Regions from separate parts of the Homo sapiens genome. Here regions 1, 2, 3, 4, 5 and 7 are each linked to region 6. The links are contacts of gene promoters, found by promoter capture Hi-C in blood cells and fetal thymus (Javierre and others, 2016). All regions are on one chromosome and are shown on one strand. Each heading gives the region's core, a stretch centred on a gene start or on the middle of the fragment in contact. The rest is flanking DNA. Distances are from core to core; before and after follow the strand shown. Region 1 has its middle 30 kb from the start of EOMES. Region 2 has its middle 88 kb from the start of LINC01981. Region 3 has its middle 20 kb from the start of LINC01980. Region 4 overlaps LINC01980 (long intergenic non-protein coding RNA 1980). Region 5 has its middle 46 kb from the start of LINC01981. Region 6 holds the start of CMC1 (C-X9-C motif containing 1). Region 7 has its middle 87 kb from the start of LINC01967.

The links. The method cuts DNA at HindIII sites, captures the fragments that hold promoters and counts their contacts. A CHiCAGO score of 5 or more calls a contact.
Region 1: a fragment that was not itself captured here is called in contact with the fragment with the promoter of CMC1 in region 6 in 7 of 17 cell types (total CD8 T cells, total CD4 T cells, naive CD8 T cells and 4 more); the score reaches 9.4 in total CD8 T cells.
Region 2: a contact is called between a fragment that was not itself captured here and the fragment with the promoter of CMC1 in region 6, in 2 of 17 cell types (M2 macrophages and total CD8 T cells). The highest score is 7.9, in M2 macrophages.
Region 3: a fragment that was not itself captured here is called in contact with the fragment with the promoter of CMC1 in region 6 in 3 of 17 cell types (naive CD8 T cells, total CD4 T cells and total CD8 T cells); the score reaches 6.2 in naive CD8 T cells.
Region 4: a contact is called between a fragment that was not itself captured here and the fragment with the promoter of CMC1 in region 6, in 1 of 17 cell types (naive CD8 T cells). The highest score is 6.4, in naive CD8 T cells.
Region 5: a fragment that was not itself captured here is called in contact with the fragment with the promoter of CMC1 in region 6 in 7 of 17 cell types (total CD8 T cells, non-activated CD4 T cells, total CD4 T cells and 4 more); the score reaches 9.0 in total CD8 T cells.
Region 7: a fragment that was not itself captured here is called in contact with the fragment with the promoter of CMC1 in region 6 in 3 of 17 cell types (M2 macrophages, naive CD4 T cells and total CD8 T cells); the score reaches 6.6 in M2 macrophages.

What each region holds. Positions count from the first base shown.
Region 1 is chr3:27,750,820-27,754,432 of GRCh38, forward strand. No RefSeq gene overlaps it. Among named protein-coding and RNA genes, the nearest start is that of EOMES, 30 kb to the left of the region's middle. The HindIII fragment of the contact is 6,751 bases long and covers 1-3,613 here.
Region 2 is chr3:27,920,693-27,924,244 of GRCh38, forward strand. No RefSeq gene overlaps it. Among named protein-coding and RNA genes, the nearest start is that of LINC01981, 88 kb to the left of the region's middle. The HindIII fragment of the contact is 3,236 bases long and covers 506-3,552 here.
Region 3 is chr3:27,775,441-27,779,474 of GRCh38, forward strand. No RefSeq gene overlaps it. Among named protein-coding and RNA genes, the nearest start is that of LINC01980, 20 kb to the right of the region's middle. The HindIII fragment of the contact is 9,075 bases long and covers 1-4,034 here.
Region 4 is chr3:27,800,364-27,803,892 of GRCh38, forward strand. LINC01980 (long intergenic non-protein coding RNA 1980) reads left to right here. Exons shown (of 5, transcript NR_146630.1): 2 at 2,401-2,487. Among named protein-coding and RNA genes, the nearest start is that of LINC01980, 4.5 kb to the left of the region's middle. The HindIII fragment of the contact is 2,147 bases long and covers 205-2,351 here.
Region 5 is chr3:27,878,003-27,881,715 of GRCh38, forward strand. No RefSeq gene overlaps it. Among named protein-coding and RNA genes, the nearest start is that of LINC01981, 46 kb to the left of the region's middle. The HindIII fragment of the contact is 1,595 bases long and covers 1,253-2,847 here.
Region 6 is chr3:28,239,494-28,243,147 of GRCh38, forward strand. CMC1 (C-X9-C motif containing 1) reads left to right here and starts at 2,126. Exons shown (of 4, transcript NM_182523.2): 1 at 2,126-2,319. The coding sequence starts at 2,301. RefSeq lists a silencer at 2,339-2,418. The HindIII fragment of the contact is 9,835 bases long and covers 1-3,654 here.
Region 7 is chr3:27,940,022-27,943,669 of GRCh38, forward strand. No RefSeq gene overlaps it. Among named protein-coding and RNA genes, the nearest start is that of LINC01967, 87 kb to the right of the region's middle. RefSeq lists an enhancer at 1-487. The HindIII fragment of the contact is 1,863 bases long and covers 506-2,368 here.

The sequences.
Region 1 (3,613 bases), core at 923-3,422, 490 kb before region 6:
GGTTCACTGCAAGCTCCGCCTCCCGGGTTCACGCCATAAAGGAGAGTAAATGAATTATTTTTAAGGATATAAACATATGAGGTCAAATAGAATAGGAATGGAAAGCTGAGAGTCCACCAAAGTTATACCACTGAACTCCAAAGGCTCAGAAATTGATTGTGCCAACTACCTGTATGATGAGAGGAGGGGGAAACAGGGCCTAAAAGTGGGAAAATTGGTTGAAAGTAAGGTTGTAAATGCATTAGTCCATTTTCATGCTGCTGATAAAGACATACACGTGACTAGGCAATTTACAAAAGAAAGAGGTTCAATTGGACTTACAGTTCACGTGGCTGGGGAGGCCTCATAATCATGGCATGAAGGCAAGGAAGAGCAAGTCATGTCTTAACGTGGATGGCAGCAGGCAAAGAAATATTTTGCAGGGGACTCCTCTTTTTAAAACCATCAAATCTTAAAACCATCAAATCTTATGAGACTTATTCACTATTGGAGAATAGCATGGGAAAGACTTGCCCCCACGATTTAATTACCTCCCAGTGGGTCCCTCCCCAAACATGCGGGAATTCAAGATGAGATTTGGGTGGGGACACAGCCAAAACATATCAATAAATAGGTGAGAGTCTCTGATGCCCCCTCTACTCCTTGCACTAGGTGACAGTTCCTCTCCAACCCAGCCAGAAGAGGGATGGTTCCCTCATCAGACACATTCTCTGGACTGGGGATGCCAGATAGAAGGAGGAAGAAGTGAATGCTTATATTCTGAATTTTGAGAATGCCGGTCTTTTTCTTCTATCTTATTCCAGAGACTTGCAGTCAGGCCCATGTCCATGAGGCAGGAGATTTGTCACCCCTTCTCTGAGGAATCAGACTACATCAAATATTAGGATAGAAATGCTAAAAGTTTTGATGTCAGGGGTTCTCCCTATAAAACATTCCAGGCCTGTAACTCTACAGTGATCCTTGTAATACATACACCCTGCCAGCTGACTTGAGCCTTACAATCAACTATTGTTTGGTCCCTAACTTCTGAATATAAGATAACCAAAAATCACCATTCACATGTACCATAAAACATGGAGACTAAAACTTTCAAGAAGACAAAAGCAACTTGAAGGAAACATAGAAGGAAAAAAACAGAACAGCAACAACAACATAGCCACAACTCAACTATCATCTATATCCTCTGAAAGATATCATAAATCCGTGAAACAACAGGATGATGCTATAAAATTGGAGTATTGTAATATGCAGAAAAGGAGTTTGAATTCTTAGAATTTAAAAACACTAGTGGCAAGGAAGCAAAGAAGGCTTGGAGGCCGGGTGCGGTGGCTCACGCCTGTAATCCCAGCACTTTGGGAGGCCGAGGCGGGTGGATCACAAGGTCAGGAGATCGAGACCATCCTGGCTAACAAGGTGAAACCCCGTCTCTACTAAAAATACAAAAAATTAGCCGGGCGCGGTGGCGGGCGCCTGTAGTCCCAGCTACTCGGGAGGCTGAGGCAGGAGAATGGCGTGAACCCGGGAAGCGGAGCTTGCAGTGAGCTGAGATTGCGCCACTGCAGTCCACAGTCCGGCCTGGGCGACAGAGCGAGACTCCGTCTAAAAAAAAAAAAAAAAAAAAAGAAGGCTTGGAATGTAAAGCTGAGACACTTTCTCAAAATTTGGACAAAAACGAACATATAGAAAAAAGAAGATAAGATACAAAATTGGAGGACCAGTCCAGGTGGTCCATTTGAATATCATTTGAATTTTAGGAAGAGAAAGTAGAGAAACTGAAGAGAGACCACCAATGGAATAATTCAAGAGAAGTTTCCAGAATTGTAGGACATGGTTTCCTAGGCCAAAAGGACCCGTTGAGAGCCCAGTACAACGTATAAAATAGACCCATATGAAAGCACATCTTTGGGCACTTTCAGAACACAGGAGTCAAAGATAAGATCCTGAATGCTTCCAGAAACAAATACAAATCACAAACATAGGATCTGAAATCAGAATTTCTTTAGACTTCTCAATAACACTACTGGAAGCTAGGCAGGATTAGAGCAATGCTTTCAACATTGTGAAGGAAATTTATTTCCACTCTAGGATTCCATACCCAGTGAAATTATGACTTAAGTAGGAATGTCAATTAAAGATTTTTCAAATATGTATGCTCTCGAGAAACATATGCCCCATGTACTTTTTTCTCAGAAAGCCACTGGAGGATGTGGGTTAGCAAAACAAAAAAGTAAACAGAAAAAAATGCATGTCATAGGTTTCAGAAAACAGAGGATCCAACACAGAAAAGAGGCAAAGTGAAACCCAAGATGGTGATGAAGAAAGCAGAGGAAATGCTACATGAGGCAAGATGGCAACCAGTTTATTGTGAACTGGGTCAGAAAACTCCAGGGGAGATTCCTGTGAGAAAATAGAAGTAATACAATACTTGCTGTATCTGAATGTCTTATGAGGAAATTTAGACACCTGGAAGAGAGATAGGGGTTGAATTGGAGGAAAACAAAAACTTAGGCAGAAAAGAAAAATTTGTCACAATGTACTGCATGGCCCAGCAGTGAACTTCAAATACTGAGGTAACCAGGCAGGGTGCGGTGGCTCACGCCTGTAATCCCAGCACTTTGGGAGGCCGAGGCAGGCAGATCACTTGAGGTTAGGAGTTCGAGACCAGCCTGGCCAACATGGTGAAACCTTATCTCTACTAAAAATACAAAAGCTAGCTGGGCATGGTGGCGCACACCTATAATCCCAGCTACTCGAGAGGCTGAGGGCAGGAGAATGGCTTGAGCCCAGGAGGCGGAGGTTGCAGTGAGCTGAGAGTGTGCCATTGCACTCCAGCCTGGACAACAGAGCGATACTCTGCCTCAAAAAAAAACCAAAAACCAAAAACCAAAAAACAAATATGGGAGTAACCAAAATTATGACATTGAGAGGCTGAGGACATGGTGGTGAGTGGGGGGTGGGGTGGTTGGGGAGGGTAGGGTGGGTCAGACTAGGAAAATCAAGAATAGTTATTTCAAGATATGAACCTGGGAGGCAGAGGTTGCAGTGTGCCGAGATCGCAGCACTGCACTCCAGTCTGGGCGACAGAGAAAGATTCCATCTTAAAATAAAATAAAATAAGAACCCAAATATTAAAGTTTAAAAAGTCAGGGATAAGAAATATTGAGGTGGCATTAATATTTTCCTCTTGTACTCCAGTGTATCATATTTTACATAAAAGTCCTGGACCCAGGGTCTCATACTTCTTGGGAGGCAACTGGATTGATTGATTGATTGATTGATTGATTGTACTTTAAGTTCTGGGTTACATGTGCAGAATGTGCAGTTTTGTTACATATGTATACACGTGCCATGGTGATTTGCTGCACCCATCAACCCATCACCTACATTAGATATTTCTCCTAATGTTATCCCTCCCCTAGCCCCCCACCCCCTACAGGCCCCCTTGTGTGATGTTCCTTTCCCTGTGTCCATGTGTTCTTATTGTTCAACTCCCATTTATGAGTGAGAACATGTGGTGTTTGGTTTTCTGATTTTGTGATAATTTGCTGAGAATGATGGTTTCCAGCTTCATCCATGTCCCTGCAAAGGACGTGAACTCATCCTCTTTTTATGG
Region 2 (3,552 bases), core at 874-3,373, 320 kb before region 6:
GTTACTTATTGGTATCTTTGAAGTTTTTCCCTGTTACCTAAATTATTTTTTCTTTTGGATTTCTGTGAGTGAGTGAGTACATTTGTGTTGGAAGAGCTTTCTTTATGTGTCTAGTGATCTTTAATTGCCATGATTCCAAGAAATCACTAAAAATCTTCAAGAAGCTGTTACAGGCTGAATTATATTCCCTCCAAATTCACATGTTGAATTCCTAATCCCCAGTACCTCACAATGTGACAGTATTTGGAGATATGGTTTTAAAGAGGTAGTTGAGTGAAATAGAAATCATTAGGATGGCTCTAATCCTATATGACAGGTGTCCTTATAAGAAGAAAAGATTAGGACACCCATGCAGAGGAAAGACCATGTGAAGACACAGGGAGAAGACAGCCATCTATAAGCCAAGGAGAGAGGACTCAGAAGAAATCAACTATCCTGACACCTTGACCTTAGACTTCCAGCCTCTAAAACTATGAGAAAATACGTTTCTGTTGTTTAAGGCTTAAGCTTTAAGCCACTCAATCTGTGGAACATTGCTATAGCAGCCCTAGCAAACTAACACAGAAGACCTCAGGCTTGAGGCTGTCTTCATTTTTGGTGCTTTTCTAGAGAACTGGCTGTTTGATTGCTGGATACTCCTTTCCCTAACAAACATACATACAATTTCAGTCTATAGTGGTCATTAACTATCTCTGAAAATGAATCCTTCATCTTCCTCCCTGGAGGTAGACACCTAGCTATGTAAAGGTTTGAATCCATTCAGCATGCATTTTTTCATTTGACTATTCCGTCATTCTCTTTGCAATCTTGTACCTCAGTCCTACCTTCTGCTGTGGTTGGTGCTTCTGAGTACAATCTTGCCCTTTCACTTACACTGGAGAATTAATGATTTGCAGTGATGGGGAGTGGAGGCATTTGGCTGCTGGCAGCTCTGCATGGGGGTGGGGGAAGGTGGTATATAAATGCACATCGTTTTTTTTTTGTTTTTTTTTTTTTTTTTTTTGAGACAGAGTTTCACTCTGTCACCCAGGCTGGAGTGCAGTGGCGTGATCTCGGCTCACTGCAACCTCCACCTCCCGGGTTCAAGCAATTCTCCTGCCTCAGCCTCCTAAGTAGCTGAGATTACAGGCGCATCCCAACATGCCCAGCTAATTTTTTTTTTTTTTTTGTATTTTTAGTAGAGATGAGGTTTCACCATGTTGGCCAGGCTGGTTTCAAACTCCTCACCTTGTGATCCACCCACCTCAGGCTCCCAAAGTGCTGGGATTACAGGATTGAACCACTGTGCTCGGCATGAGTGCATATCTAGAATGTCAAGTCATTCATATGCCTTTTTACTTTAAGTTTTCCCTTGTGACATGTGTCATGGTAGTTGCTCCTGAGTTCTCTAGGGCAAATAAGTCCACATCTCATTGGTATCTCCTCGGTATGTATTTTAGATTGAAGCTCATTCCCCTATCATGTCAGTCATTACTCAACTCTCTGCTTTTTTTTTTTTTTTTTTTTTTTTTTGAGAAGGAGTTTCACTCTTGTTGCCCAGGCTGGAGTGCAATGGCACGATCTCGGCTCACGGCAACCTCCACCTCCCAGGTTCAAGCGATTCTCCTGCCTAAGCCTCCCTAGTAGGTGGGATTACAGTCATGTGCCACCACACCCAGCTGGGTTTTTTTGTATTTTTAGTAGAGACAGGGTTTCTCCATGTTGGTCAGGCTGGTCTCGAACTCCCAACCTCAGGTGATCTATCCGCCTTGGCCTCCCAAAGTGCTGGGATTACAGGCATGAGCCACCACGCCCCGCCTCTGCTTTACATTTTCTAAAAATGTAATCACGCCTCTCCTTTTCTTGCTGGGTTATATTGTTTTTACTCCTTTATTGCTATTTTATTGGAGTGATAAGTCTGAGAGGAGATTAAGGAATGTATCCAATTTGTTATTTTTATCTATCTGGGCAACTTTTCTAAAAGGAGGAAGATAAAATGATTGTAAAAATATATATTTTTTAATCAAATTAGAGTTGGTAGATAAAATAAAATTCTGAACACTATTTTTTTTAAAAGTTGCTTAAATTAAGTCAGCAAATTGGGTTAGCTGTACTTAATCTCTTTCCATTTTAGTTTTCTCTCCTGTGAAATAATGGGCTCCCCAATCCAGGTGGTTATTAGAACCAACTTGGATGCTTTTTTATAATCCAGATCCATAGACAACAGGCCCAGAGATTCAGGTTCCACCTATCTGGAGTAGAAAGCATGAGGCCAAATCACCTCTTAGCACTCTGGGCACTTAAATATTCTGTGAGTTTGATAATTTCATTTCTATTCCTTGATTTCCTTTTTAACTGGGAACTCTTTTAGGAATGACAACTTTTCTAAATAGTTGGATAATAGTGGACTCATTTAGAGCCTTAAACTGAAATTCAGTATTGCATAAATCACAAATTAACAAGTGGAATCATGCAATTGATTATTAGCTGGGAGGGCCAAGATGGAGTATGAGAACATGCTGTATAATTTGAGAAAAAATATTAAAAAATATTTTTATATTTGGAAAATCAAACACCCCTTTTCTTACAACAACTTCAAAATAAAATGCAAAAATTTTTCGTATCTGACATGGTATGTCAGAAATATAATTTATTTTCTGCATACACAAAGCTCTGGGTGGCGGTGAAGGGAATGGTGTCATGAGATTTTCAGTTTATCCAAAGGGGTCATGGGTTTAAAAAGGTTGGAAAGCACTGCAGTAGTGAGATGGATTGGTTTCTGAAGAAAAGTGAGAAAATAAAACCATTAAGTCCAACTGTCACTCTTCCAACTGAATATTGAAACCACTTGGGAAAAAAACTTGAGTGAGGTTTACAGTCATAAGCAACTTTGGTATTTTTGAGGTTTGCCTGTGAATTGCCATTTAACTGTACCACATACTTCCTAGATATGTGATTAGTTGCCATATTTTAAAACTTTCAAAAATGTTAAGTTGCTTGCTATACTGGGCTAACTTATTAAAAGGTTTCTGTTCATTTGGATTAGAGGATCTGTGTGTTTTGGTATGGTTTATGGACAGAGGATTCAGAGACTGGGATTTCTGTTCTACTTACACAATAATGTAGTGTATGAACTGGAACAGGTCACTTAGTATGTTATCTTTAAGTCTTTGTATATCATACATTGCATGCAAGGGTGATTTGGCTCAAAATTTGTCACCCATGGACTGCCAGGCTCATTTGACTGACTGATTCAGCCAGCTAGGTAAGTGTCTTCTTCCTCCTTGCCTCTTTATATTGTTGACAAATAAGGACGTGTAATCTAAAATGATGTTGTTACTTAGTGTAGCAATGGTAGTAACAGTAGCAGTTTTTCTCCAGAAGAGTAAGAGGTGAAACTGGTTAAAGAGACTAGAATATTAATATTAAAAGCAATGGATCTAGTGACAAGAAAGCTGATTTTGAGTCCTGGTTCTCCCAGCCCCATGGACTTGGTTATGACAGTTTAAGATTTCCGAGCCTTAGTTTCTTTGTTTGTAAAACTGAGATTATAATAGCTATCTGATATAATTG
Region 3 (4,034 bases), core at 189-2,688, 460 kb before region 6:
TCCTGTTATTCAAATATATGACAATTTATTATACAGTTCTACTTTTTGTGGGCCTTTAGGAAGTCTTTGGTTTGGGGCTATTGCAACTGGCTAGTACTGATTAAGTTTTTAAAAAGTAGTTCTTTGTTATGAAGCCAATATACATTCAACCAGTGATTTGGTCACCAGATTCTATTAACAGAGTTATGTTATTGTAAGTTATTCCTTTTTCAGTGCTTAGACTTTTTTCCTATTAGTAAAATAAATGCACCAGGTATGGTAGCTCACACCTGTGGTTCCGGTGCTTTGCGAGGCTGAGGCGGGAGGATTGCCTGAGCCCAGAAGTTTGAGACCAGCCTGGGCAACATAGTGAGACCCTCATCTCTACAAAAAACTTAAAAAATTAGCTGGGCCTGGTGGCATGTACTTGTAGTCTTTACTACTCAGGAAGCTGAGGTGGGAGTATTGCTTGAGCACGGGAAGTTGAGGGTGCAGTGAGCCATGATCGTGCTGCTGTACTCTAGCCTGGGTGACAGAGCCAGACTCTGACTCTACAAAACAAACAAACAAACAAACAAACAAATAAATAAGCAAATAAATAAATAAAGGGCATAGTAGGGAGAGAAATAAGGGAACTAAATAAATTGTTATTTATTGCTGCACAGTAAAGAACCTCAAAACTTAAGGCTTAAGAAAATAACAGTTTTATTATTTCTCACAGTTCTGCGGGTTGACTGGGATCCGCTGAGCAGTTCTTTGGCTTCACATGGTGCAGCTGAATCCCTCATGTGGCTGAAAACCAGCCTGGGAACATCCACGATGACTTCACTCACATGTCTAGAGCCTTGTCTCCACGGTTGGAGTGGCTGAAGGCTGCTTGCATCACTCTTTCTCTCTACGTGATATTCCGTCAGTTAGGAATTGAGCCCAAGTTTCATTATGTGGTGGCTGTGTCCCAAGAGAGGAAAAATGGAAGCTGCCTGGCCTGTTGAGGCCTAGGCTCTAAAACTCAGAGAACATCATCTGTATTTTGCTAGTCAAAGCAAATCGCAGAGCCAAACTCAGATTCAAGATGAGGGGAACTGGACTCCTCCACTTGATGGAGAAGCTGTGTGTCAATTGTTGGTAGCCTTCTTAGCTGATCATCTACCACATAATCTGTCTTGTCCCCTGCCAAAACTTGGGGGAGGAAGGAAGGCTGCCAAGTCTTGCAGGTTTTGTGGAGAAATGAGTCGATATGGAGAAAGGGTGAAGGTGATGGTATAGAGGAGGAAGGGTTGCTACACAGGTTGGGAAGTGGCAATGGGAAGTCAGGATAAACATAACATCTCCTGCTCTTCATTACTTTGGATGTATTCATTCATCTAGCAAATATTTAACGTGGGAGCCTTGAGGCAGTGTGATAGACTGACAGGCAATTTCTGGAAGCAGCATTATTCTAAGAGGCTGCCTGTTCAGAGGGTGGTAAACATTTGGAAATCAAATTGCTCAACCAGAAAACAGAGAGAGGCACTGAAGTAGGGATCCAAATGACATTGGGACACACAAGTGTCAGTAAGTAAGGTGGTTACAGAAGCCATAGAGTGGGGAGGGCCTGAGGCGATTCCTGAGCTTCTCTATGGGCTGCAAGTGACTGGCAGGTTCCTACACATTTTTCATGTGGGTCCAATTTAAGGAGCTAAGTTGAAAGTGTAGGAAATTTCAGTATTGCTGTGGAAGTAGAAAAAAAAAGCAGTCTGTGAAGCTGCTAAGTCAGTGTGTTGGCTGTAGGTGATGGTTCCAGAGGGCTGCAAGGAACTTGGCCATTGGCCAAATTACTGGAGAAGGGTTCGAGATTAGGAGAACCTGGTCGTCATGTATTTTTGTAATTAAATGAAGGTGAGACATAGTTTGGAATCAGTAGTCCTTAAAGTTGCAGTCAATTTCAGGTGACATCACTGGTGGTTACTGGCTCAAAAGGGATGTCAGGGTTCCAGGGTCCAGAAAGAACTGGTCAGTGATAGTGCAGTCGCATTATTGGTGCAGCACTAATATCACCCCTGTACCACTTTAGGGCACCCCAGTCTATCAACTGCCAGCACCTGATTTTCTTTGCCTGAGGGCTCTATCTTGTCATTGGAACCAGCTCTGCCACCAGAATAGACAGAATATTAATGTTTCTCTCTTGTCATCCCCTTACCAGTGACTGATAGGATTTTATGTGTAAATACCCCAAATTCCCTTGCCCCTCAAAGGAATAACTTTGAGGTGTATGTTCTGTTCTGGCTCTAAGTGAAATTAAATTCCAGTAGCTCACATTGGTAGTTGGCTTGAAAATATACCCTTTAGTGACTGCTTTTACTTTTGACTTTCTTTTAAAACATGATGAATTACTAAAAAATATAAGTATAATAAGGACAACAGATCACGAGATGATTCCTATTGTAAAGATAGTTTATTACTCACAGTTCCAGGAGGAGGGGGCATGCCATCCCAGCAGGGGAAGGAGGGTGAAGTATTGGGGGTGGTCAGGAAGCAGAAGGAGGGAGGAACTGTAGGTTTCTGAGGAAAAGAATGGGTGAGGCAGGGTAAACAGGACTGGCTTATTTGAACAATTTCAAAGGGCTCTGAGATATAGGGGCTACCCCATAGTTGTCTGGTATCTGGCTCTGGAATGATTAGACCAGATGGATTATGGCTGGGAATGTGACAGCCTAATAAAGGAGGTGTTTAGGGTGTGGGCTGTGGATTGGTGGGTTTGTATTTGAAAACTGCATTCATAGGCAAGTTGTTAACCATCTCCAGGAACTGGCTAACCCTGCGCGTGGCAGAACTTCCAGAGTCAGCCAGGCCCCAGATGTCAGAGCATCACAATTCAGAAATAGAAGGCATGAGTAATACAGATGCTTGCTTCCCTTCTCCCATGTGAATGATTCTGTCTCCTCTCAAACAAACTACCCGAATTCAAATCCTTTTCTTAGGCTGTGCTTCTGGGGGGAAATCCAAACTAATCTAGACAGTGATGGTGTCTCTTTTAATAATCTGGATTTTAGGTGACTAAGGTGGTGGCAGTAAGAATGGAAAGAAAGGGATTCTCTAGAATGTGTACAATATTTTCAATCTTGGAACATGTTAGTTGAATAGAAATATATATGATTTACATGTATATATTCCTCTAAAATGAATTTAATCCCAGTCATTATTATTAGCTGCTTAAGAAGTGGGCTGGTGCCAGGTTGTATCACCCCTTGAGAATTGATTACTAAATATCCAGAAAACTTGAAAGCTGGTAGTTAAACTTTTGGCAGTTTGAAATTTGCCATGGTGAGAGTATTTACACAACCAAAACTGGCAAATGCTGCAAATCAGAGCTTTTCTCCACAGAGAGATGCTTTACCAGCACACTACTGCAATTATGGCAAGTTTATGAATAAAAGAACATATTGTCATGGAATTTTGGTGTTGAGAAAGTCATCGGGAATCATCTAATCAAAAATCCTGAGTTCAAACAGATAATGACACCCAGATAAATTTAAGGGAATAAATTGCCCAGAATGAGAATTGGTGGCAATGCATAGGCTAATACCAGTCTCTTGGTAAATAAGAATCCTCACAAATGTACTACCTGGGCTGATGCATTAAATCATTATAAATATTACTAGTGTTGGCATTTTTAAATGTTCACATTGTATTTACAGAGTAGTGTGTGTGTGTTGAGGAGGAAGAAGAGGAAAAGAAAAAGGGGGAAAGTTTTTCACACTATTGACAGTGCAATTTAATAAGGGTATTTTGTAAAACGCTGAAAGAAATAAATAAAAATTCCCTGAGCATTCATTGACACTGTAAATATGGAAAGTCTGTTATTGAACAACAGTTAAATAGATGCCAAGGGAGAACATTGTGACAAAATCTCAACAAAATATCGATATGAACATATTTCTGTTTGTGTGAAAATATGTTCTCTCCATATGGGAAGGGAAACTGTAAGGAGAGAAATGTAAACAACACATTGAAGAAATGTTGAGTGGAGAAGCTGTTTATCTGCCAGAGCAAAGCACTCCTCTTCATTCTGTGAA
Region 4 (3,529 bases), core at 28-2,527, 440 kb before region 6:
GAGATGTGTGCATGATATATTTTTTCCCTACTCCAGCCTGCAGTGGGTTACCAGAGATGAATCACTCATGGCTGTGATGTTATGGGGAAGTGCAAGGCTTTGCTTGCTGTCTTTAGTTCTGAGAATTTGTGAAGATCTGGTCACCCCAGTCACCCCCACTGGTTTCTCATGAAGCCATCGCCTGAGTTGCAGCAGACATAAGAAAGCTTGAGTAAAAACTGCTGATCCATAGCCCAAACAATTATTCGTCTGACACAGCCAACTGGAATGAAGAACTTTTTTGCTTCTTTTCCTACCTCTGTCTCAACTAGCAGGAGAATACCATATCTCATGGGAGTAATGTATCTTGCTGACCATTTCAACTGAGCATATTTATGCAAAGAATAGTAACTAACCATATGGGAGCTAAACTTAATCAGGCAAATTTGTTTAAAAAGTTGGAATTGAGTGTCTTCCACCAATCCTATTAAAAAAAGATACTTCATCCGTATTTATGCTGCTGTCTCTACTATGATGCTTGCTCAAAGAATGAGCAAGTTCAATCTCTTTGGAATACCTCTCTATGTTAGCAATGAGTGTCCTTGGCACCAGTAGGTAAGAAAGCTGAGAGAAGAGGGCTTACTTATACCCAGTGATAATTATGGTGATAGTCTTTCCTGAGGACTAAATTCCATGGTTCTTCAAGGAGCAGTGGGGTGCTTGCTCTGTCTTTTACCTTGAATGCCTCTAAAGCCATGACTCTCTGTGCTCAGCCCCTAAGGTTTTGCGGAGGCAGGCCTGGATCAATGGTTCCCAGGCCTAGCTGAGCATTTATTCACCCAAGGATCTCAGAAGAAATAATCAAGATCATACTCAGTTCTAATATGGTTTTGGGTGTGGGATCTCTGAATATGTATTTTTAAGAATTTCCTCAGGTTTTTCTGATATGCAACTACTTTGAATACCTCTAGAATAGTGAAGATGATGATGGTGGCTATGTTGATATCTACAGTGTATGGAGCTCTTACTGTGCTCCAGACCTGTGTTTAATGCTTCCCATGCATTCACTCATTTCATCCTTCCCAAATCTCTATGAGTTACTAGTATTGTTCCCATTTGAAGGTGAGGAAACTGAGGGTCAAAGAATTTAGTAATTTTTTCAAGTTCATGCAAGTCGCACTTGGCATGCCTCCGGAGCTGGAGTTTTTAACCATTAAACATTTTTTCCTCCCTACCATTTTTTTCAACTGTAAGGGGGGTGGGGGTTAGAATAATCAAGACACATGCAGATCATTGGGGGAAAAGATCTCTCTGAAAATGTCTGGAATTTCTGTAGGCCTCTGAATCTGGGCCTTTTTCTCAGAGTTAAGGAGCCGTTGGGCTGACAGGCACATTTAGGTGTAAAGTTGATTTTGTCATATCTCAGACAGGGAGTCTTGCAGCTCCATAAACAGGGAATGGAGGCTACAGAACTGCCTGAGGGAAAGGGTTCATAAAAATGATATTTTTACTAAGCACCAGAAAGAACATTTTCGTCTTTAAATATGCAGAGACACTACAGCAAGTATCACAAATTCATTCTGGTGATGCAATCAACAACACTTAATTATCAGCTCCACAAGCAAATTAGGTGAGAAAATTACTTGTCTTTTTATATTTATATTATTTCTAAAAGAATTCAAAGAAGATAAGGATTTAACTACCACAGCATATTACTCATAAATGCCTTCTCTTCTTTAAATGTTGTTTTTTTTCTCTCCCTTTGCTTTAGCCACAGGTCTGCCTGTTCTTTTGCTTTGCCATTTGTGTGGATACCTAGTAGAGCAATTTGGGTGCCATTCTTTGAGGAATCCATTGGATCTGTCAGAAAGCTGAGGTAGAGACAGTTGGTGTTAGGGTTAAGTACCAGGACTGGAGATATGTTCCTGAGTGTCTCTGTCTGAATCCATCTGTTTACAACATATGAGGCCAATTTTCTAAGAAGACTGAGCTGCCCTGCCAAGACTGTTTACCAGAGGTGGCTTTTAGGTGATATTTGTGCAGCCATTGATGCTAACTCATAGTCTGCAAATCCTAGCTCCACATTTTCTTTTTCCTGTGAGATATTGTTTTGAGGATATGGAGCTCTGTGGCCTAAGAAAGCCCACAGAGTTAACTCTGCCCATGGAGTTAGGCAGGGCAAAAAGAAAGCCCACCACTCCCCAGCAAAGTCATATTCTCCTCCACTTTCTCACACCTCACATGGCTCTATTCCCAAGGGATCTTTCTGAGATGCTTCTAGAGGGGAAGCTATCGCTTCCTCCTTAGTATTTTCTGAAAGCAATGAAGTCTCAGCTATTTTACTAAATATGCTTGCAACAGTTAGAGGCCAAAGCTTGGTTTCTTCTAGTTTCCCTAATTTGTAAACCTCTATGTTCTCAGTCTGCTCAGCCTGTGTTAGTGGAGAAGAGGGAAGGAAACTGGCTGGAGGCCGCTGGACCCACAGAGGACAATAGACAATCTCCTGCTGTAAGTCACTTCTGGTCCCATCATCAGTTATGCCCCCAGCAATTTGGTTCTCTATCTCCAAAAGCTAGAACAATTAGAGATTCTAGAATTTGTCTAGTCTAGTGTTTCAGAATCAAATGCCAGGCCTGAGGTGGCCAATGCAAAAAAGTGAAGTGAGTCAGGAGGGGACTGTGTGAGCTGGAGAGCACATACCTCAACTGCAGGAGAAGCTGCCTTTAGCTCCATCAGACTGTTGTCAGGAGGCAATGTGAACCCAGGGTGCCAGATCTTTCCAAAAGATTTCATAAATCTGAATTTTTTAAAAAGAAATTTCATAAATTTTTAATGTTAACAAATCATTCATTTTTTTTCACTTATTTTATTTTTTATTTTTTTGGAGATGAGATCTTGCTCTGTTGCTCAGGCTGGAATGCAGTGGTGCAATCACTGCTCACTGCAGCCTCTACCTCCTGGACCCAAGTCACCCTCTTGCCTCAGCCTCCTGAGTAGGGTCACCACACCTGAACAATTTATTTATTTATTTATTTATTTATTTATTTATTTATTTTTGTAGAGACAGAGTCTTCCTATGTTCTCCAGGCTGGTCTCAAACTCCTGGGCTCAAGCAATCCTGCTTTGGCCTCCCAACGTATTGAGATTACAGGCATGAGCCACCATGCCTGGCTCTGAATTTTTAAAAAACTGCTTTGTGGGCCAAACAAAACATGTCTGTCAGATATGGTCTGAGGGTCACCAGTTTGCAACTTCTGCTCTAGTTCAACACTCTTTTTTTTTGGAGACGGAGTCTCGCTCTGTTGCCCAGGCTGGAGTGCAGTGGTACAATTGCAGCTTACTGCAACTTCCGCCTCCTGGGTTCAAGCGATTCTCTTGCCTCAGCTTCCCGCGTAGCTGGGACTACAGGTGCATGCCACCACTCCTGGTTAATTTTTTGTATTTTAGTAGAGACCAGGTTTCACCATGTTGCCCAGGCTAGTCTTGAACTCCTGAGCTCAGGCAATCCGCATCCCTTGGCCTCCCAAAGTGCTAGGATTACAGGCGTGAG
Region 5 (3,713 bases), core at 800-3,299, 360 kb before region 6:
CTGCCTGGTCTCTGTTATGTTTCTGTTGAAAATCTTATTCACACATTTGTGTGCTTGTCTTGATTATAGAAAATTTCATTTTTAATGCCTCCCTGTCTTTGCTTTACTTCAAGCCCACAGACTCAATCATCAGGTCACACACATGCATCATGCAAAAAACAATCTTGAATGACAGGAAGCAAAAGTGAAAGCTTTAATACCATGTGGAAATCAAGGCAAAAGCCAACTTTTTGGATAAGCAGACCCATCTTAAAAGCATAGGGTGTGTGGTTGTGGCAGGTGGTGACGATGATAGGGAAACTTTAACTCCCACATTAGGGAATTAATAGGAAATGGCTAAAAGGAAAATTCAAGTTGGACTATATTATTTAACTATTTGAAAGCAATGACAAAGGAGACAGCGAAAGCAGCTAAGTGGTTGATTCTGAGGAGTAGGAAGGAGTGGGAAAAAGAATATGGCCCCCAAGGGGCTAACTTTCATAATAAATCTTGTTGAACTATAATATACAATTATGTGCATAACTTGATAAAATAGAAATAAAATGAAAGGAGCCCTAAATCTGAGCCAAGGCTCTTCAATTCTGGCCTGCCTTAGCTGATTGCTCAGATTTTCTCTTTCCTTCTCTTATGAGTTGTCTTTCCCGTATTTATTCTTCTCTTGGTTTAATCTCTTAATTTTTTAATTTTTTTTTATTTTTTGAGACAGAGTGTCTCTCTGTTGCCCATGCTGGAGTGCAGTGGTGCGATCTCGGCTTACTGCAACCCCTGCCTCCTGGGTTCAAGCGTTTCTTCTGCCTCAGCCTCCCAAGTAGCTGGGACTATAGGTGCGCGCCACTACCGCCTGGCTAAATTTTGCATTTTTAGTAGAGAAAGGGTTTCACCATGTTGGCCAGGCTGGTCTCGAACCCCTGACCTCAAATGATACACACGCCTTGGCCTCCCAAAATGTTGGGATTACAGGCATGAGCCACCGCGCCCAGCCCTAATCTCTCATTTCGATGGTGTGTCCTATAATTGTTTCCTGAGAAAGGATATAGGAGATTAAAATGTTAAGCTCTTACATATCTAAAAGTGTCTTTAATCCACGCTGACATTTTACTCCTTGTCTTGGCATAGAATTCTAAATTGGAAACTATTTTCCCTCAGAATTTCCCCATTTTTCTGTTAGTTTCTACTGTTTTATTGAGAAATCTACAGCCATTCTGAATCTTGGTCCTTTTAATGTAAGCATTTTTTTTTTTTCTTTTCTGAAAGCTTTGGGATTTTGTCTTTGATCCTAGTGTTCTGAAGCACTACACTGGTGGGCCTCAGTGAGGATTTATTTTTAATTTTTGTGGTGAACCTCAATAAGACTTTTAATTCTGAGAAATTTTCTTAAGCTGTAATATTGATTATTGTATCTGTTTTCTTTTCTAGAATTTCTTCTACTTAGATGGTTAGTCTTCTGGACACTCTCTAAGCTCTAATTTGCAAATTTTTTTTGCTCTCATTTTCCATGTCTTGGTCTTTTTGCTTTACTTTCCAAGAAATTTTTGTAAATTATCTTCTAGCACATCAATTGAGATGTTCATTTCTGCTTTCAGGTTTTCATTTTCTAAAACTCAGTCTCGTTGTCTGCATGTTTGGTTTTTTAAAAATAGAATCCTGTTTTTATTTCATGCATATAATATCTCACTCTACCACCCAGGCATGATAATAGCTCATGGTAGCCTCCAAATCCTGGGCTGAGGTGTTCCTCCTGCCTCAGCCTTCTGAGTAGCTAGGCATATGCCACCATGCCTGACTAACTTTTGTTTTTTGTAGAGATGCGGTCTTGCTATGTTGCCCAGGCTACTCTTGAAATTTTGGCATCAAGCAATCCTCCCGTCTTGGCCTTCCAAAGTGTTGGGATTACAAGTGTGAGCCACCACACCCAGTCTTTTCTTAGACTTCTGACTTTCATGTTGTGTGTTTCCTCAGATGTCTGGTGATCAGCTTTCTTTGGTCTATTTAGTCAGTCAGTTATGTGCTCTTCTGCATTCCAACTTCCAAAATTTTATCACTATCATGAAAGGAGAGATTTCCTCAAAAAGAGAATTCCATCAATGAGGAAAGAGATATTGTCCCATTCTTCTCCTTGTCAATGTATGCCATTTAGAGGAGAGGCTGGGCAGCAGTGTGGAAGCTGGATAGGGAAAAAGTACTATTCTTGCTCAACTGTCCAGACCAATTTGCCTTTAATCCCAAACTTATGTTGGGGCTTAGAACACAATACCCCAAATATGGCACCTTGGTGTGCTGAGTACTCTGAACTGAAGGACACATGGAGGGCCTCAGAAACAAGGTCTGCCTGACCTTCTCCCATCCTCTGGTTTCCTGCCCCTCTTTCTCTTCAAAAGCAAATCACAGAAACCAGAATTTCACTTTTGCAAGGTGGGTCATAGAAACTAGTCCTCCTCTCACCCAAAGCAAGCCATAAAAACTAAAAAGGTCACTTTTCCCCTTCTCCCTTCTTACTTGAAGACCTCATTCCGAGGGCCCTGTCCCATATCCAGGAGGAAGGAATGTTACACAGAGAAGACAAGAAGATTCTGGAAAGGCCTTGCTGGGTTTGCCACCTATTATCATTAGATCATACTCTTTTGTCCAATCACATTTCTACATGGCTGTCTATTCTTCATTGAACCTAAAAAAAATAGACAGTTTTCCCTGGATCTCCCGATCTTCATTTCTAAAGGCACCCGTGTCACATAAAACTTTGATTAAATAACTGTGTTATGCTTTTCTCTTGTTTACCTGTCCTTTTTATAGGTGTGTAGGCTTGGATCCTATGACTGCTGAGGAAAATATCACACCTTTCCTCCCCTAAGCTTACTCAACCCAGCACAAGAAAAGCTCTGTGCCCAAATTTCCCATCCCTTCTTAGAAGGCAGCTTGAGCTCTATCTATCTCAAGCCTCTTTGGAGGATTAGTTCTGCCCCTTCTTTTTCTTCCCCTAAGCGGCTTGGTAAAGCAACCCACATGTAAGTCTTTTCTGAAAGTGGTTTTGGGAAATAGCATTGTCTTCATTGTATTTCATTTCCAGTGATTTTAGTGCCTTGTAAATGCCAGATGACTCCGTCTCTTTTTTCCTGCCTCTGCTTTCTTGCTACCCAGCCCAGTCTCAGTCTCCTCCTCTATAAAATGGGGGACATACTACCTCCCTTACTGCACTCTGGTGAGGAAGAAGTAAAACAAGGTAAATTGGAAAGCCAGTAGTCAGAGCCTGCCACTTCAGGAGCTTCTTGGCCTTTGACAGCTCTAAGAACTATGAGCACCATGGGAATATCTTCTCCCAATGTCTCCTTTACTAGGGGGCCCTTGATGAGGGTTTGCAGTTTTCTCCATCAGGGCTACAGTGTTTGCAAAAGTGAAAGTAACTTTAAATCCCTCGCGATCAAAACATAAGGTGAAAAACACCCAATAACTAAATTCTCACCTTAACAACTATTGCAAGTAAAACCGAGGAGGGAAGAGAAGATATTAACCTCCCTAGACCTACATGCAAGCAACAGGGTAAGTAAGCAGCATCAGTTCTCTGCACAAACCCAGAGAAGGTGTGAGACACTGTGGAGTCTGCTGCTTCTTTCAGACCCAGGGAATGTCTGCTTGACACCTCTCTTTCTGCCTCCCCGCACCCCACTTCCTTCTATTTTTGTAACTTAGAGAAGAACAGGAAGGGGTATTTTTTTTAA
Region 6 (3,654 bases), core at 876-3,375:
TTCTAACTTATCTCTGAAGTCTTTCCTAACCATTGCGGCATTCAATCCTTTGAGAAAGGCTTTTGTGGGGTCACCAGTTACCAGACGTTGCCTGAGCTCTAGGGATCACAGCTGGGTAAGACACTGTTCCTAATTTCCAGGATGATGTCCTCTCCTCTTTCCTTGAGCTCCTTTTGCAGTTACTACCCAAAGAATTGCCTATTAATAATGCGATGCCTCAGGAAATTTCTTCTGTTTTTAATTGCCAATTACATTCGCTTAACTTAAAAAATGACTTATCTTCCCTAGGTATAGATTGTAAAGACTCAGTTTCCCCCCAAAGTATCTGGTTTAACATGGGAGTAGAGAGAGATATACTATTATGTATCAGGTATTGGGCTACCGTTTTTGCTAGTGCTTCTCCTGGTGTGATACGTCTAGCAGTTCATTCTATGGGGCACACAAAACCCATGATATTACAGATACTGTTGCTTAGGATAAGGCTAAAGTAAATAGTGCCTATTTAAGTGTTTTTAAAAATGTGTTGATTTAAAAACAAATGTTAAATAGTAATGTTTCAAGTAATAGCTATGGCAGAAATGGTAGAAGTGGTCCTTTAAAGTCTTTCAAATGCATTGTATGATATCACATTTATTCCTCAGAACAACCTTGTAAATTGGAAACCAAAGTCCAGAAAAATAATAGAACTTACTCAACTCACTAAGATAACAGATCAAACTTTCCTCCTTTACCATAATACCCTTTTGCATATAGAAAGATTTAGTTTAATTCTTGAATATGGGTGTCTGACCTGTGTTTTCATACTCCATCTCCTCAAAAAGATTGCTTTAGCTTTCTAAATCAAATCCTTCACCTTCAGAACAATAAAAGAGGCATACCAGAGTCATTTTGGTGTATTTCTAAGCATATTTACAAAATATACAAGGAAAAGGACCTGATTCCCTGGCTGGGTGAGTGAAACGTTAATTCTTCACCTTGGCACCTCAACCTACAGCTGTAATAAGGGCCGTTATGCCCAAATAGGCCCTTAAACGGAAGACCTGCTGAGCAGAGACCCACTTTCCCAGCCCTGCTCAACTGCCTCAGCTTTTCTGCCAACTGACCAGGCGGAAGCAGCAGCAGGGGAGGAGGGACTGCAGGTAGGTGGGGAGGGGATCATTTTGAAAGCCCTGAATCCCTTGCAGGGAAGAAGCAGCTGCTCCTTGTTTTTCTAAACATCTGTCCCATCTGTCCCAGGCCTCAGCTCACCCTTTCGTGGCTCGAGCCAGTTAAACGTGAATTTGACAAGGAAGCACTTCTGAAGGCTGGTTTGTGAGTGGAAATGAACCTAAGTGCCACCTAGAAAGTTTCTTCTATTGAGAAGAGGTGAGTAGTGGGTCTTCAGCGGGACGGCTATTACCTTCCTTCATTTTACTCTCACAAAACATACAGCTTTTACTGATAGAGGCAGGATTTGTAACATCACCCAAATCATACTGTACGTCCTGAGGATATTATTTCACAACATAGAGGTACTTCTAGAGCCCATATTTTAACGTCTAGGAGAGCCACAGTCTTTGATTTGAAGGAGAAATAACGATATTGCACACACCATATCACCTTTATGGTAGAACAAGCTGTGAACAACTAGTGCGTGTGGCGTTTATCACATTTAACAGCGTGTTGCTTTTATTTGTCTCCTCTGCCACACTGCTCCTTGAGAACAGGGACGTTATTTTTATTGTTATTTTCCCCTCGTATTCAGAACCGTGGCTGGAACTTGGCAGGCATGAAATAGACATTTATGAATGAATGAACGTTAACGAAGAAAAAAAAAGGAACTGGATGATTCATTTGGTTCTCCGAAGGCGGGTATGGGGGACGGGGCTCGGACTTTGGCCCAGTCACCGAGTGAGGCACAGTCCCAAAGTCCTGCAGGTCCGCCTCCAGTCACGGCCGACCCGGGTCTGCAACTGGTGCACAAGCCTCCTGAAGCGAGGCTGCGCGCGTCCTGCACGGTCCCGCCCCAAAGGCACGCAGACACGCCCCCTTTCCTGGTCATTCCCCCTGCGAAGTCAGTTCCACTCTAGTTACAGGATTGGGGCGGGGCCAGAAAGGCGCAGGCGCAACGGGCGGCGGAAGTAGGAGCCTGGGAAGGAAGAGGGAACGGGTCCTGGCGGTGCTTTGCAAAGGGCCCGTGTTTCTGTTGCGGGAAGCTCCCGGGGGTCGCACGTGCGTCCGAGCCCAAGCCCCTCCCCTCCACTCCCCTTCCTGCGTGCCCCGGAGCCGCCAAGCGGCTACGTTCTTCTCGGCCCGCCGAGATGGCGCTCGACCCCGCAGGTACCGGGGCGGGAAGCGGGGTTTGCCGAGGGGCCTCGCCCCGGGTCTCACGCCGCGGGCCATGCGGGCTGGATGCCGACCTGGGAAAGGTGCAGAGCTCTGGGTAGCATTGCTTCCACCAGCGTCTCCTCATACCCGGCGGCTGCTTCGCCCGGTCTGAGGTCATCTTCTCACTTGTTGGGGATTATGGTTATCTGAGGTTGCGTTTGTTGTCTAAAGTATCATCCATTGTGGTTTCCAACTTAACGCGACTAGTCTCTTCATTGTCACCCTCTTTTCGCCCCTTAAGGTCACAGATGCATTTAATGTATGCTGCAGACACTCTGGCCCCAGAAAAATTTGTATATTTGTTCTGGCGCACAGTTTTACATTTCTGTTTGGGAGTTCATGGACCCCGAGTTCATCCTTGTAACCCAACTTAAAAACATATTTCAAAGGATCCATCACTATGGCAGGAGTCAGTTTCTTTGGAAAGGATCTTCAAAATCTTGAATGTTGTTTTAATCTCTTTGCTTCCAGCCACTTCCGTTTGCAGCAATAGTTAACTTACCCTCGAATTCCCGTCCTTGTGGAAGGTCACCTGCAGTATCTTTGCGTTAGGCTATTTTTGCAAGGGAATAGATAACATTTTTGGAGGGAATGGTAGTTGGTCTAGTCCATTTCTTTCATTTTATGGATACAAAAAGTCAAAACATTGAGAGGTAAATGGCGTCAAACTTGGGAGATTCAGAAATGGAAAATGCTCTTTCGGAGCCTTCAAGGAGCATGGAAAATATATGTAGCACAGAAATAATGTTTTAATTGAACATGTTATTACCATGCTAAGTGTTCTCTATTATCCAACAATAATATGTGGTATGGTAGGTCCTTTTAGCTCCATTTTACAGATTAGGAAACTGAGGCGAAGAGAAGTTAAGTGACTAGTCCAGCAGGTAGTGGTAGATCAGGGAGTACTCTAATTTGAAGCATAGAGGAGTTCTGGAACATAATGATCATATTCATTTTGGACTAGGTGGTTATGAAGCAGTTAGCAGTTGATCTGGGCTTTGAGGGATGGAATTTCCAGTGGTTGGAGCTGGAGAAGAGGCAGCCCTATGAGCAAAGGTTTAGATAGTAAGGTGCACTGTGCGATGCTTGGTTTCAGGATGACTACCATGATTTGGTTCTTGAGGGTAGAAGGGGTAGAGTATAAGTGAGGGGTGAGTAAGGAAGGTTCAAGTTTAGGCCCATATAATTTATGGTATCTTTTTTTTTTATTTTACTGAAACGGAGTCTCACTGTCGCCCAGGCTGGAGTGCAGTGGCGCTATCTCGGCTCACTGTAGCCTCCGCCTAC
Region 7 (3,648 bases), core at 187-2,686, 300 kb before region 6:
AGTGTGTGGAATGTGAATGGCCCGCTGCTTTGCTCTCAGCCTGCGATGGTGATTCATAGGTCAGTCGTAGCCATGAGAATCCCTCTTTGCATTCTTACATGACAGCTGCAGTGGAAGACAATCAGGCCTGGAAGTCAGGTCACATGTCTTACGGACTCAATGACCCCAGCATTGTCATTTATCCTCCTTGAACTTCAGTCTCCTCTTCTGGTATGTGAGCTGTTATTTGATCCCCATAATGACATGGCAGTGAAGAAGCAGGGAACTGAGGACACTCAATCTGTAAGGAGTTAAGTGACTCTCCCCAAAGTCGCATAGTTAGGAATGGCAAAAAGAAAGGCTTAAACTTGGGTTTTTGGACTGTGAGCCTAGTGCTACTTCCTCTTCATAATTACAGAGCCTGTGCATTTATATGATTTATATGACTCAGGTCTTCTTTAGGAGGTTGAGAGCACAGACTTCTAGGCCTGGGGTTACCAATTGTTCTGGTTTACCTGGGACTGAAAGCTTCCTTGGGCATGAGACTTACAGTTTTAAAATGAGGAAACCTGGACAAACAAGGACAAATTGGTCACTATAGCTGGTTAAAATTTTAGGCAGTGGTTGTCAATTGTGGCTGCAGAATAGAATCACCTGGATTGCTTAAAAATACTGATACTTAGGCCCATGCCCGGCAATTGAATCTGAATCTCTGGGAGTATCTATATAATTTTTTTTTAAATCTCTAAAGTTTATTTTGATGTAAAGATTGAGAACTACTGATTTAGAATACAGTATCAATGAACTTCCTCCTTCAGCAGACCACACATAATTGCCCACAATCAAGGTGGGGGAAGTGGCTCACCAAAGTCTTTTTTTTTTTTATATTGTGTTTTTATTTATTTATTTATTTATTTATTTATTTAATTATTATTATACTTTAAGTATTAGGGTACATGTGCGCAATGTGCAGGTTAGTTACATATGTATACATGTGCCATGCTGCTGTGCTGCACCCATCAACTCATCATTTAGCACTAGGTATATCTCCTAATGCTATCCCTTCCCCCTCCCCCCACCCCACAATAGTCCCCAGAGTGTGATGTTCCCCTTCCTGTGTCCATGTGTTCTCATTGTTCAATTCCCACCTATGAGTGAGAACATGCGGTGTTTGGGTTTTTGTCCTTGCAATAGTTTACTGAGAATGATGATTTCCAATTTCATCCATGTCCCTACAAAGGACATGAACTCATCATTTTTTATGGCTGCATAGTATTCCATGGTATATATGTGCCACATTTTCTTAATCCAGGCTATCATTGTTGGACATTTGGGTTGGTTCGAAGTCTTTGCTATTGTGAATAGTGCTGCAATAAACATGCGTGTGCATGTGTCTTTATAGCAGCATGATTTATAGTCCTTTGGGTATATACCCAGTAATGGGATGGCTGGGTCAAATGGTATTTCTAGTTCTAGATCCCTGAGGAATCGCCACACTGACTTCCACAATGGTTGAACTAATTTACAGTCCCACCAACAGTGTAAAAGTGTTCCTATTTCTCCACATCCTCTCCAGCACCTGTTGTTTCCTGACTTTTTAACGATTGCCATTCTAACTGGTGTGAGATGGTATCTCATTGTGGTTTTGATTTGCATTTCTCTGATGGCCAGTGATGGTGAGCATTTTTTCATGTGTTTTTTGGCTGCATAAATGTCTTCTTTTGAGAAGTGTCTGTTCATGTCCTTCACCCACTTTTTGATGGGGTTGTTTGTTTTTTTCTTGTAAATTTGTTTGAGTTCATTGTAGATTCTGGATATTAGCCCTTTTGTCAGATGAGTAGGTTGTGAAAATTTTCTCCCATTTTGTGGGTTGCCTGTTCACTCTGATGGTAGTTTCTTTTGCTGTGCAGAAGCTCTTTAGTTTAATTAGATCCCATTTGTCAATTTTGTCTTTTGTTGCCATTGCTTTTGGTGTTTTAGACATGAAGTCCTTTGAAAGGCACATTGGAGAAGGTTGCTTTCTTCAAGGTTGTAACAGCTGGAGCGAGCCCTCAATTGACTAAAGCAACAAATTGTACTACTGAGGGAGCTGCAAGGACCACAATTCCATCTACGGCCCCAGGACTTGTGTGGAAAGACAGACACTGCTTCTTGAAAACCATCTTCCATAGACTGGCATTCAGTCCCCTTGGCTTACCGCAAGGAGGAGGGAGAGGATGCCAATATGGTGTGATGAAAGCAAATCTCTGCGTGTGGGAGTTTTCTTCTAACTACCAAATAAAATGACTGCTTTTGACTAGGTTTAATGGATCTGACTTTTAAAAAATCAAAGAGTTTAGAAAGCCTCAAGGTAAATAGTTATAAGAAAATAAAAATCATTTCTGCATTAAGCTTCAAATGAAATAGGGAATGTCACTTGGTGCCTATGACACCTGAGTTGCCTTGCTCTTCCTGATCCTGTGGCATTCTGCGTCATCAGCTGTCTTTTGAGAATAGACCAGAGTTGAGGATAACTTCTCACCTATGCATTTAAAAATGGCACATCAGAGTCCTGTGACATGATTTGCCCATGGCCATTTACAATGGCCAAAAATGCCAAAGTAGAATTTGTATTAGCCTGCACATTGTTTCTGATCACTGTGGGGATTTTCTGGTTCTAAAAACAATAGTGCTGAATATAATTTTGAGAAAAAATACAATAATCATTCCCCAATAATTTCCCAGCAAACATTTTTATGTTTGTGTTTTTGTGTCTGTCTTATTATCAAATGATAGTACCAATAAGAAGATAATAAGAAACCAGGATGTAATACTTATTAAACCTCCCTGGAATAAGATGACATTATAAGTTTTGAAGCAATGGGAAAAATGACAAATAAGAAAAACTGGCCAACGTGTTTAAAAATTTAAATCTCTCTGAACATACTCGTGTGTGTGTGTGTGTGTGTGTGTGTGTGTGTGTGTCATGGTCAAGTAGCACTTAGGATCTTATGCCATCTCCTTTTCATGTGCCTTCCAATACATCAGAGGTAGAAAGGTAAAAATGGATATTTCCCAGGCTCCTTTGCAGGTAGGGTGGTAGATTCAAAATAGATTCACCCATTAATGCATTCCTGTGAGGATTTAGAGGCAGAAGTGTGCCAGATGCTGCTGTTGGCTCTTCATTTTTGGTTTTAGGTACAGCTGTGGAGATGTGAGGTCTAAAGTAACATTCCAGGGTCTCATCCCCACCTTTGTGGTTGTCAGGAGACATTTGGGCTGGAACGGTGGGGACTTCTTATTCCTTTGGTCTCAGCTGCAGTGGCGTGTTCTTCCTGATGGTGGCAGATGTATTATAGCAGCAGCTTTTAAGGACCAGTTCTGTGATGATTTAGGAGTCGTTTTTAGGGGGCCAGCCTAGAGCCTGCTCCTATAGAATTTCCAGGGATTTTATAGGCATCTAATTATCTGTGTTAAATTCCTTTTACTTAAAATATTTACAGGGGTTTCTACTCTAAATTATGAAGTATTGATAAGAAAAAAGAAAAGAATAAAAAATATAAAAAGGGAAAAGTTAACAAAATGAACAACTGGTTCACACGAGACGAAATGCGGAAAAATAGAAAGCCCCTGAAGTGGATCTCCTTTTAGGAGTTGCCCTGTGGCAAACTCACCCAAATGGCTAACATG